4 separate regions of the Homo sapiens genome follow, and all the other regions are linked to region 2. The links are contacts of gene promoters, found by promoter capture Hi-C in blood cells and fetal thymus (Javierre and others, 2016). All regions are on one chromosome and are shown on one strand. Each heading gives the region's core, a stretch centred on a gene start or on the middle of the fragment in contact. The rest is flanking DNA. Distances are from core to core; before and after follow the strand shown.

The links. The method cuts DNA at HindIII sites, captures the fragments that hold promoters and counts their contacts. A CHiCAGO score of 5 or more calls a contact.
Region 1: a contact is called between a fragment that was not itself captured here and the fragment with the promoter of B4GALT6 in region 2, in 1 of 17 cell types (M0 macrophages). The highest score is 7.2, in M0 macrophages.
Region 3: a fragment that was not itself captured here is called in contact with the fragment with the promoter of B4GALT6 in region 2 in 1 of 17 cell types (M0 macrophages); the score reaches 6.2 in M0 macrophages.
Region 4: a contact is called between a fragment that was not itself captured here and the fragment with the promoter of B4GALT6 in region 2, in 1 of 17 cell types (fetal thymus). The highest score is 5.2, in fetal thymus.

Annotation. Positions count from the first base shown.
Region 1 is chr18:31,549,513-31,552,212 of GRCh38, forward strand. It overlaps DSG2-AS1 (DSG2 antisense RNA 1), which reads right to left. Exons shown (of 6, transcript NR_045216.1): 3 at 526-847. Among named protein-coding and RNA genes, the nearest start is that of DSG2-AS1, 6.0 kb to the right of the region's middle. The HindIII fragment of the contact is 2,055 bases long and covers 382-2,436 here.
Region 2 is chr18:31,683,285-31,686,316 of GRCh38, forward strand. It overlaps B4GALT6 (beta-1,4-galactosyltransferase 6), which reads right to left and starts at 1,297. Exons shown (of 9, transcript NM_004775.5): 1 at 1,028-1,297. The coding sequence starts at 1,142. RefSeq lists a silencer at 1,394-2,433. The HindIII fragment of the contact is 10,803 bases long and covers 1-3,032 here.
Region 3 is chr18:31,815,903-31,818,861 of GRCh38, forward strand. No RefSeq gene overlaps it. Among named protein-coding and RNA genes, the nearest start is that of SLC25A52, 57 kb to the left of the region's middle. The HindIII fragment of the contact is 512 bases long and covers 1,221-1,732 here.
Region 4 is chr18:31,500,909-31,503,662 of GRCh38, forward strand. The region is part of intron 1 of DSG2 (desmoglein 2); the gene reads left to right. Among named protein-coding and RNA genes, the nearest start is that of DSG2, 4.1 kb to the left of the region's middle. The HindIII fragment of the contact is 1,692 bases long and covers 407-2,098 here.

The DNA of each region.
Region 1 (2,700 bases), core at 159-2,658, 130 kb before region 2:
TACAATAATGAGCAGGCCGTATTCATAGACAGAAAATGGAAGTGAGGTAGGGAAGCTGCTTGATTGGTTACAGCTGAGCCTTTGCCTTATTTGGAGGTGGGCTGATCAGTTGGCAGCCAGTGACTGGCTGAAACTCAGCTGCTGTGATTGATTGACGCTCAGCTATGTATTACAAAAATATACTCCTAAATTAGGCTTTCAGTTCATTTATGTACCAAGCTAGGCTGCAGTTCGTCATGTGGGGACTCAAGGTATGGAGGCAGCCTCAGGCCCAGTTTAATTTAATAATATACCAACTTGGGCTAAAACATAGGAAAGGGGATTAGGGGCTTCTGGGCAGGGGAAACAAGTTATGGGAAGGTGACCAGGAAAAGTCTGGTAAGCTTGAGTAAGATTTGTCATGCAGATTTAAATTAATCTCTTTGTCACTTATAGTCATCCCGTGTTTCCGGTACGGAGGGAGACAGCCTTACAAATGGACATTTCCCTTATAAATGTAAATCCCTTTACAAAAGGTAAACTTACGTTCTGTCTTCAGAGTTTCTCCTGCGTCTGCTATTTCTCAAAATAATCAGCTCAAAATAATCCTTATACTAAAAACGTATTTTGGGGGCTGTAGCATATTCTAGTCGACACTGCCGGTAAACTGGAATGTCTCATGAATGAAGATTTCACGACAATGGCACATCAGAACATCCTAAAGCATGAAGACTGGTTTATTCCTGCGTGACTTCAGTTCCCACTCCCAGTGGCACATGGAGCTAATTCTGGTTGATCTCTGCAGACCATATTCCAATCACCACCACATCAAAATGTCTACAGTAGGACGTTGCTAACCAAATATCACCTAAAAATGAGACATTTCAGATCATTAAATCTGACTTTCTTAAAGGACCAAAATTTATTAGTTTCATTATGTTTTATTTTAATCCTCTATATCATTCCCAATTACTTTGTCTACTGTTTCCATTAATTACTAAGAGGTTGAAGTCTCCCAAGTGTGGCTTTGCTTATTTCCCCCTTTAATTCTTTCTATTTTTGTTTCCTGTGTTTTGAAACTTTTTGCCTGTGTTATTAGGTACAAGTACATTTAGGATTACTGTGTTCCTGAAGAACTGATCTTTTTATCATTATGAAATGCCTCTCTTCATCTCTGTTTATAACTGCTAATTACCTTTAGCCTAAAGCTGCCTCCTTACATTCTTTTCCTTTTTTTTTTTTTTTTTTTTTGAGACGGAGTTTCAAGTGAGTGAAATGGCGCAAACTCGGCTCACCACAACCTCCGCCTCCCAGGTTCAAATGATTCTCCTGCCTCACCCTCCCAAGTAGCTGGGGTTACAGGCATGCGCCACCACGCCCAGCTAATTTTGTATTTTTAATAGAGACGGGGTTTCTCCATATTGGTCAGGCAGGTCTCAAACTCCCGACCTCGGGTGATCCGCCTGCCTTGGCCTCCCAAAGTGCTGGGATTACAGGCGTGAATTACCACACCTGGCCCTTGTTACATATTTTAAGTTTGGCCTGAAGGTTTCTCCATACTTAGTGAACTATAACCTAACTGGATGTGTAAACAGACTGTAACCTACTCTTGTCTGAGGCAATCACGGCCGCAATACTTCAACCACTCACAGGCAGCCAACTGTTCAAACTGCATTCAAATAAGGCAAACCCTGAGCTGTAACCAGTCCTGCTATTCTGTACCTCACTTCCTTTTTCTATCCATAAATCCTCTCTGACCACGTGGCAGCACCAGCGTGGCTCTGAATCTACTCCGGTTTAGGTACTGCCCAATTTGCAAATTATTCTTTGCTCAATTAAAGTTTGTAAAATTTGTTTATATATTTATTTATTTTATTATTTTGGAGATGGAGTCTCACTCTGTCACCCAGGCTGGAGCGCAGTGGCAGAATCTCCGCTCACTGCAACCTCCGCCTCCCAGGGTCAAGTGATTCTCCTCAGCCTCCTGAGTAGCTGGGCTGGGATTACAGGTGTACGCCACCACACCAGGCTAATTTTTGCATTTTTTTTTTTTTTTTTTTTTTTAGTAGAGATGGGGTTTCCCCATGTTGCCCAGGCTGGTCTCGAACTCCTGGCCTCAAGTGATCCACCAGCCTCAGCCTCCTAAACTGCTGGGATTACAGGCGTGAGCCACCACACCCAGCCAACTTTGTAAAATTTAATTTGCCTGAAGTTTTTCTTCTAACACATTCTTTGTCTTGAAATCTACCTTGCCTAACATTAATACAGCCATACCAGCCTTCTTATGGTTAGTGCTTCCGTGGTATATCTTTTTGATCCTTTTGCTTGACACCTGTCTGTGCCTTTATAGTACATTTATTGTAAACAATATACAGGTAGGTCTTGGCTTTTCCCATTTTGACAATTTCTGACTTTTATCAGAAGGTTTTACAACAATTATTTATATGGATAAGTTTAAGCTTCCATCTTTGTATTTGTTTTATCTTTGTCCACCTGGGTTTTCTGTTGGTTTTTTGGTTTTCTCCACTCTTGTTTCCTGACTTCTTTTGTGTACTGCATGCTTTAGGATTCCACTGTAGCACCTCTGTTGACCTTTCACCTACACCCGCTTGTGTTTACTTTTTAATTGGTTGCTCTTACTGAGGAAATATAACTAACAACAAAATTTCCTCTCAACCTAAAAAACCTTTCCACAAAGTAAAGGAGAAAGAAAACAGTGTC
Region 2 (3,032 bases), core at 47-2,546:
ACTCTGTAAGGGGCATTACATTTTTAGCTAACTCGGAACAAAGAGCACTGGCTCAAACGACCACAGTGTGTAAGGAGAAATGAGAGGAGATGCTCACTGTTACTAAGTAATTGAACATTAAATACGTAATAGCCAGGAAAAACTCAGAAAAGTTTTGGAAATATGACATATTTTAATATGCATGTGAAGTTCATAATTCTCATTCACTAGAATTAACGCCGCATTGGCTCCTTTTCAACAAATGGGGGACGAGGAATTCGGATATTTAATAAAGAAGTTAATTCAAGCAGTTTTACAAAAGTGTATTTTGCACCAAAGGCCAAAAAATGATAAACCGGTTAACATTTTAAACTACAAGTTCCCTTAGATAACGGTTATTTTAATCACTATTTTCTCAGAAGTCATCCTAACAGGTAGCAAAGGCAACGTACCCTTGAAAATAACACCCAAGCAGACTAAAATAATGGAGCATTGTTTTTACAAGACAACTCATCGCCTTAAAATTCCCCAAGTATGGCACAAAAAGAATGGGGTCCACTGACCCCATTCTAAAAAAGCGACCTAGGACCCTAGAAAACACACATTGTTGGACTCAATCACATTCCCTGCTGCTGGCTCCTCCATATTTTTACAACCAGTTATTATACCCGAGAGTGTTTGAATAAAACTACGATTAAGCACTCAGTTTAGGCTTAAAGACTTAACATTAAATGGATAAAGCTGTCATGAACACTCAAGAAAGCGACTAGGGCATCCCGGGCCATCACACTAATTTTGCTACGTCTATTTAATGCAATCTTTTACGTTATTAACAAACATGCATTAACAAAATGCATGCATTAACAAAACTCACATACCAAAGCCATGCCCTGAAGCAGTTTGACACGTCTGAAATAACATTTAAAACAAAACGCTTTTCTGCGGGCCCCTGTTTGAACAGCTTCCAAATCCCAGAAGTAACATCGGATAACAGCCTGCGCTGGCTGTGGTGTGACCAGGGGAAGCGAGGGTGTGTCTCGGTGCTTACCGATGCCTGGGGCCACATAGATGAAGTACAGACAGGACGAAGAGAGGGAGAAGAAGAAGATGAAGGCGAGGAGAGAGCGATTGGAAACCCGCATCATCCGCCTGAGCACAGACATCTTCCTCTTCCCTGCCAGCAGCCCAGGCTGCGCTCTCAGGCCGGACTCGGGGCCACTGTCCAGGCCCTAAACTTCCATAAATGTGCTGAGAACCCCGAGACTGCAGCGGGGTCCGCGCGGGGAGGCTCTGGGGAGAGGGCCCGAGCGGAAAAGAGGAAATGGGAGGGAGCGGACGGAATGAATGGGAGGCCAGAGAGTCGGGGGAGGGGAGGCGCGGAGGCCGAGGGACAAGAGGTGGAGGGGGGAGAGGGGACTGGGGGCTAGGGGCCCGGGGACGGCAGGACGGAAGAAAGCCGGGGAAGGGCGAGGAGGAGCGTTTTCTCCGCCAAGCAGCGGCGGGAGGAGGGGCTGCAGGTGGGAGGAGGCGCAGGCTGCGCGCCGCGGCGCCCCTGCGGAGAGGGGCAGCTAACTGCAGCACGCCCGGCTCCGCTGCCCGCGCCCGGCGGGGTCCCGCCGCGAAGCCCCGTGCTTAAGGTCCGGGCCGCCCGCGTCCGCTCGGCAGGCCCTGCGCCGCCTCCTACTCCGGGCCGCGGCGTCTCCTGCCTGCGCGGGGCTAGCGTGGGCGCCGGGGCCGCAACCAGCGCGCGCCACGCGCGGGGGCCCGCGGGGGCCCTCGGGGCCGAGGAGCTGGGCGCTCGCCTGCACCGAGCCGCCTCCTCATGCCGCGCCGGGCCCCGGCGCCCCGCGGCCGCCGCGGGAGCTGAGCACAGGCCAGGGCGGCGTCCCGGCCAGCGACGAACGCGCTCCGACTCCGGCCGCCGCCAGCTGCCTGCCTGGCCGCAAGGGCGGCAGCGGCATTACCGCCGCGCGCCCGGGGTGAGGCGCCCCCGCCGGGCCCGCGGACACCAGGCGAAGAGCAACCGGGCGACGCGCGCTGCGGGCAGAGCCGGGGAGCCGGAAGAGCAGAGGCCGAGCGCCGTCGGAGCCGCGTCTGGTTGGAGAAAGAGGCGGACGTGAAGGGGCGGGGGAGCCGCGGAGGAAAACCGGGACCGGCGGGAACGTCTCGAGACCCCTGCGCGCTTCGCGCGCTCGCTCGGAACTCGGCAGGCGGCGCTGCGCCGGGCCCCGAGGAAACCTGGAGGTCCCCGCCCTCCCCGCGCCCGAAACACCGCGCGTCCTGATAGGCCCGCGCCCAGCAGCCCCCTCCCCGCGCCCGCCGCACCGGGGCCCCACCGCCTCCTGCGTCACCGCCGCCCCCGCCCGCCCGGGGACCCCGCGGTGACCGCGCTGCTGGGGGTTGAGGGACGCGTTGCGAGCCCCGGATACATTGTACCCTGGGGGTACATAATGAAGGATGCTGTACCTGAAAGGAAAAGGGCATCTCCAAAAGGGGACTTCGCGGGTGGAATTTCCTTCCAAAATCCTCGAGGAACAAGGTGTATTTCCGACCTGGATTAATGAATCCCCCCTCCTATCCCGCACTTCCTGTGGAAACAGTGTCAGGATGTGGCGCGGACCTATGTGCGTCCCTTATACCAGGACTTGCCTTCAACGCTGAAGGTGAACCCTGGGTCATCCTCGCTGTATTCAGGCGGCGCTGCAAAGGCTTCTGGGCAGCCAATAGGCCCTTGAGCGCCTCAGCCCCATCTTGCTTCAGTAGGCAAACGGACGGGTGTCTTCATCCACCTCCTAGGCCGTGGTCTACCCTTCGTTCAAATGTTTCTTCCTGCTAGCTGACTGTCCAGGTCCTTAGCTGTATCACATTGTTCAAATGTGTGTGCGCAGGTGTTTCTTTTTCAACTAATCATGCAGGAAGTGGCGGGATGCCTTACTGCCATTATTTGCTGAGTATTTCCAGATGGAACTGTAGTTGATAGCCAATAAATTTGGTACGTTTTTATCGGGATGCGCATGCCATAGATCGTCCCTGAGATAATGCTTTGCAATGTG
Region 3 (2,959 bases), core at 227-2,726, 130 kb after region 2:
CTGAGATCACACCACTGCACTCCAGCCAGGGTGACAGAGTGAGACTCTGTCTCAAAAAAAAAAAAAAAAAAAGATTCTGGGACAAATGCCCATCAACGATAGACTGGATAAAGAAAATGTGGCACATATACACCATGGAATACTATACAGCCATAAAAAAGAATGAGTTCATGTCCTTTGCAGGGATACAGATGAAGCTGGAAACCATCATTCTCAGCAAACTAACACAGGAACAGAAAACCAAACACTGCATGTTCTCACTCATAAGTGGGAGTTGAACAATGAGAACACACGGACACAGGGAGGGGAACGTCACACACTGGGGCGTTCCCCCAGGGCAAGGTTGGGGGCAAGGGAAGGGATAGCATTAGGAGAAATACCTAATGTAGATGAGGAGTTGATGGGTGCAGCAAACCACCATGGCACATGTATACCTATGTAACAAACCTGCACGTTCTGCACATGTACCCAGAACTTAAAGTATTAAAAAAAAAAATGACTCCGAGAGACGAGAATTGAGGGGATAAGTGGTCAACAATAACAATACTAAACTCAGCCAAATTAACTGCTGTATTAAAAATTGGGTTTCAATAATAAAATGTGGCACATCAAACCAGCCTGCCCCTATAAAAATATCAGGTTGATCTATTCATCAAACAAATATTTTTGAACATATAGTCTATGCCCAGGCACTGCACAAAATCCATAGGTATAACATGATGAACAACATGGCTTCCTGCTAGGATCTTAAACACTCAGAGGGGACAACACACCTTACTGGCAATGGCAACATAGTTTTATTAGTTAGGGTATGTTCAGCAAAAAAAATCAATAGGTTTAATAAAATTAAACTTTACTTCTTTTGCACAAAAGTCCAGATAGACAGTCCCAGGCAACTATGTAGACTCCACAATCATCGGGACGATGGGCTTCTACTAAATTGTTGCTCTATCATCGACACATGGCTTCCACCTTGTGGAAGATTCCCAGTAATGGGAGATCTCTCAAGAACCCACAAAACATTCCCTGGTGCCCAGAGACCATCAATGCCAGGTTATCACAGTACCGGTGAGGTAAGGCGTTCCTACACCCTTGCTACTCCTACTTAGGTACTTTTACCAAATTCTGGAAGATTCAGAGTCAGCCAAGTATATTAACACAGGAAGGAGAAGCACACAGTAGAAAAATGGAGAAGTTGGCCATCTTCCTCCCAAACTGAAAGCTTCCCAGGAGAGAAGCCAATGTTAACTTTATGAAATTCAGAATGCTGGTTATTAAAGTTCTTGGAAATTTTAATTATTGAAATTGAGGCTCTTCTTGAGATTTAAAGTGATCAGAGGGCATTGGTCAAAAGAGTTATGGTACCCAATATCTCATTCATCAGTTCATTTCTTCTATTCAATTCAACAAGAATTTCTAGTATGTGTCCTGCATTGTTCTAAGTATTAAGGAATGATATGAAAGAAACAAATCTCACAGTTGATGTGCCAAGCCCCAAGTTTACAATCAAAATAAAGCCTAGAATCTTGAACAGAATTGGTAACTTAAAATAGTGCGGTGGTTGCTATAGAGTGTCGACCTTAAAGAGATTCAAGAAATATGGTTAAATATAGCATTTAGTCAAGCACAAATTTTAAGGATAGGCATCCAGGAACACAGATTCCAAAGAATGGAAGCCAGTGCTCCAAAGTGGAGAAGTTTTGGGGGTCATTTATATAAATAAGGTTTGGGAAGCTTAACAATGTTTCAACATTTTCCACACAAGGCTAGCACACAGTTACAGTAATCTGATTAATTGAGGTGGTGTTCTTTTTGGGAAAGGTATATTTAACATTCCACATTGAGGATATAACAATCATGGAGTCTTCCGCACCATCTGATCTGAGTTAGATGCAAGATAATAAAGGAGGAAAGGCTAGCCATCATCAGGAGGGGGAGGTCTTATGTCTGGCACCATTTAGTCTTTCCTAATTGATTTGCAGAACAAGAACAACGAGAAAGAATGAATCTATAACCTGAGAAGCAGAAATTGCAGCCACATGCATGTGCTCAGACCACACAGTCACATTTCCTTTAAGGCTCAACATAATTTTTAGGCTTCTAAAAATTATAATTAAGTTTGAATTATTTAGGTTTCATACAGCCATTTGAAATCACATCTATTAGAGGGACTTACAGAGGGACTTACGAAGTTCAAATGGAATTTAAGTAAATCATGTTTTAAAATGATACATTTTTTGAGAACTTATTACTGTCAGTCACTGAGCTAAGAAATGTATGGAATTAGGTCAGCCGATCGTCAAAACGACCCATTGAAATAGGAATTATTGTTGCTACACTATACAGATGAAAAAACTCAGATGGCTGGTTAAGTTACTGCCCCAAAGTCTTATATTTGGTAAGGAGGAAAGCCATGGATTGAAAGCTGGGTAGTGTGATTTAGGAACCTTTCAATACTAGCTGTTCCAAGGCAATCTTGTTTGCAGAGATGACAGCCTGTATTAGTCTGTTTTCACACTGCTGTAAAGAAATCCCCGAGACTGGGTAAATTATAAAGGAAAGAGGTTTAATTGACTCACAGTTCTGCACGACTGGTGAGGCCTCAGGAAACTTACAGTCGTGGTGGAAGGTGAAGGGGAAGCAAGGCACCTTCTTCACAAGGCAACAGGAGGGAGAATGAACGCAGGAGGAACTACCGAACACTTATAAAACCATCAGATCTTATGGGAACTCACTCACTATCACAAGAACAGCATGGGGGAAACTGCCCCTGTGATTCAATTACCTCCACCTGGTCTCTCCCTTGACACATGGGGATTATGGGGATTACAATTCAAGATAAGATTTTAGGTGGGGACACAGCCAAACTATATTATAGCCTGTTATTCGCAAGTAAACTCATACATCCAAAAACGTATTATTGTTTAGAAAATATTACAACCTACCTTTAAATTCTTAA
Region 4 (2,754 bases), core at 3-2,502, 180 kb before region 2:
TCGGACTGAAATTTAGTATTTCTTTAAATTATGAGTGTGGGGAAGACACTGCACAGTAGTGTGAGCAGTAGCTGTGACTATCACAATAGAATTCATAAATACCTTTACATCTTATGGTGATCTCAAAATACCATTTATTCTGAACATCACTAATAGACTTTCTACTAGATCTTTTACTTAATATGTTAATAAAATACATGATACTGCTGCATCACAAATTGGTATTTTAAAAATGCTGATAACTATTTCAATATAATTGGGTTCATTGATAATCCCCTGTATTTTATTTTATACATTTGAAATCATTAATCTGAGAAGGGGTTCATAGGCCTCGCCAGATTGCCAAGGAGGGCTCGTGGGTGAGAGATTTCCTGATGGTTGCTTCAATTTTGGGTTCGACTAATGAAGCTTGTGCTTTAAAATCAAACTACATTTTAAGGATTCAATGATAGCAGATCACACTGTGAGCAGATATATTTAGTAGGGTATTAGTTTGCTAGGACTGCTGTAACGAAGTGCTAAAAACTGAGTGGCTTAAAACAACAAAAATGTATGATCTCACAGTTCCAGAGGCTAGAAATCCAAAATCAAGATATGGGCAGGGCCATGCTCCCTCTGAAACCAGTTTCCCTCCTTTCCTCTTCCAAGTGCATACTGGTTTGTTGGCAATCTTTGTCATTCCTTCTCTTGTAGGTGCATTCATTACTCCAATCCTCCATCTGCGCATGGCATTCTCTCTTTTGTCTCTTTATATCATCTTCCCTCTGTGCATGTCTGTGTCCTTGTCCAAATTTCCCCATTTTATAAGAACATCGGTTGTACTGGATTATGCCCCAAAATAATGACCTCAGCTTGGTTAAATCTGCAGAGACCCTATTTCCAAATAAGCTCACATTCTGAGGTACTGGTGGTTAGCACTTCAATATATTATCTTTTAGGGGTCATAATTTGATCCATAACAAGTGGATTCAAGTATCTATAAATTATCAATAATATCAGAGTTATGCTTAGTGTTCTAATATACAACTGAATAATATATATTAAAGAATACATTAAAGTATAAATTAGATGGTGAATATTGAAGCCATAAGAATAATCAATTATCATATCCAAGGATTTTAGAAACATGGATTTCTTACTGGTTTTTGTTTCTAAAAGTTAGTAGGTAATGGGAAAATGGCAGCTCTTAACAGAAATTTTCTTTAATTATAACTTAAGGCAAGTACTTTACAAAGAGATATGAGCATTCATTGGCCTACGTACTCTCTGATTATTAGAAATCCCCGATAAGCTAAATTAAAGTTTCCAAGGCTAATATTCTGTGGTGTGTGAGTGTAGTGAGCCCTGGGGCGGGCTCACTACAATATAAATATGTATTTATAGAAACTTCCCAATTGATCTAATTGTCAGACAAGTGTAAGCGTGAGAATTACTGGTCTATATTTTGCAAAAAAATCTATATTTATGACATAGAAAAATTTACATGGGAAAAATTACACATTGAATAGGGATAAGTGTTTTTGAAAACTGCCAAATTATATTTAAAATTAGAAACTTTAGGCTGGGCACAGTGGCTCACGCCTGTAATCCCAGCACTTTGGGAGGCCAAGGTGGGCGGATCACCTGAGGTCAGGAGTTTGAGACCAGCCTGGCCAGCATGGTGAAACCCCATCTCGACTAAAAATACAAAAAATTAGCTGGGTGTGGTGGCACATGCCTGTAGTCCCAGCTACTCAGGAGGCTGAGGCAGGAGAATCGCTTGAACCTGGAAGGCGGAGGTTGCAGTGAGCCGAGATTGTGCCACTGCACTCCAGCCTGGGTGACAGAGGGAGACTCTGTCAAAAAAAAGAAGGAAGGAAGGAGGGAAGAAAGGAAGGGAGGGAGGGAGGAAGGAAGAAAGGAAGGAAGGAACTTTAACTGAAAGCATAAAGGACTTTTAGATCTATTTGAGCAATTTTTAATCACAGCTTTTTTCCCTTGTCTTTCACTCTGACACAGATTTCAATAGCTTTGACAACAATTTATAAACATATAGTCTACATATGATGAGAAACTATCTTCTCAGTTTTGTTTTTTATTAAGTTTTTGTCATATGCAAAGCTTGGTGATTAGAGTGAAGAAGCTGGAACAACAGAATTCCTACCGTGGTCGATAGTGAGATGAGAAATGTCCATAAGAAAAGAAACCAGACACATGACCCCTATTTAGTGAATCCCTGCTTGATGCTAGGCAATGTGCTAAACACTGGAGAACTATAAAAAAGCCAGACATGTTCTGCCCTCATGGTGCTTACAGTCTAATGAATGGTATAACAAGTAAATGGCTAACTTCCAAATGGGTAACGATAAGAAGAGTAATAATAGAGAAACGTAGTACCATGGAGCCTATAGAAGGAGCAACTATCTCAGCACTGGGTATCCCAGCTGGTATCTGAGAATAATTATAAATTAGTGAGATGATATGAAGAGAAATAGATTCTAGGTAGAGAGAAGAGCATCTAAAAGGCCTGAAAATGATAGTTCATGGTTCTGCAGAGGAACCTAAACATTCATTGTTGCTTGAACTTAGAAAGTGAGGCAGAAGAATGTATAGGAAGATAGGCCTTCAAGCCAACAGAAGCCCAGAAAAGCTACTTGCCAAGGAAGTGTTTTCAGGGAGGTATTCACATCACTAAGTAAATGAAAAGATGGGCTTTGGGTGAGATGGTCAGGAAAGAGTCAAGAAAGAAGAGATAGGATTTGAGTGATTAAGTAT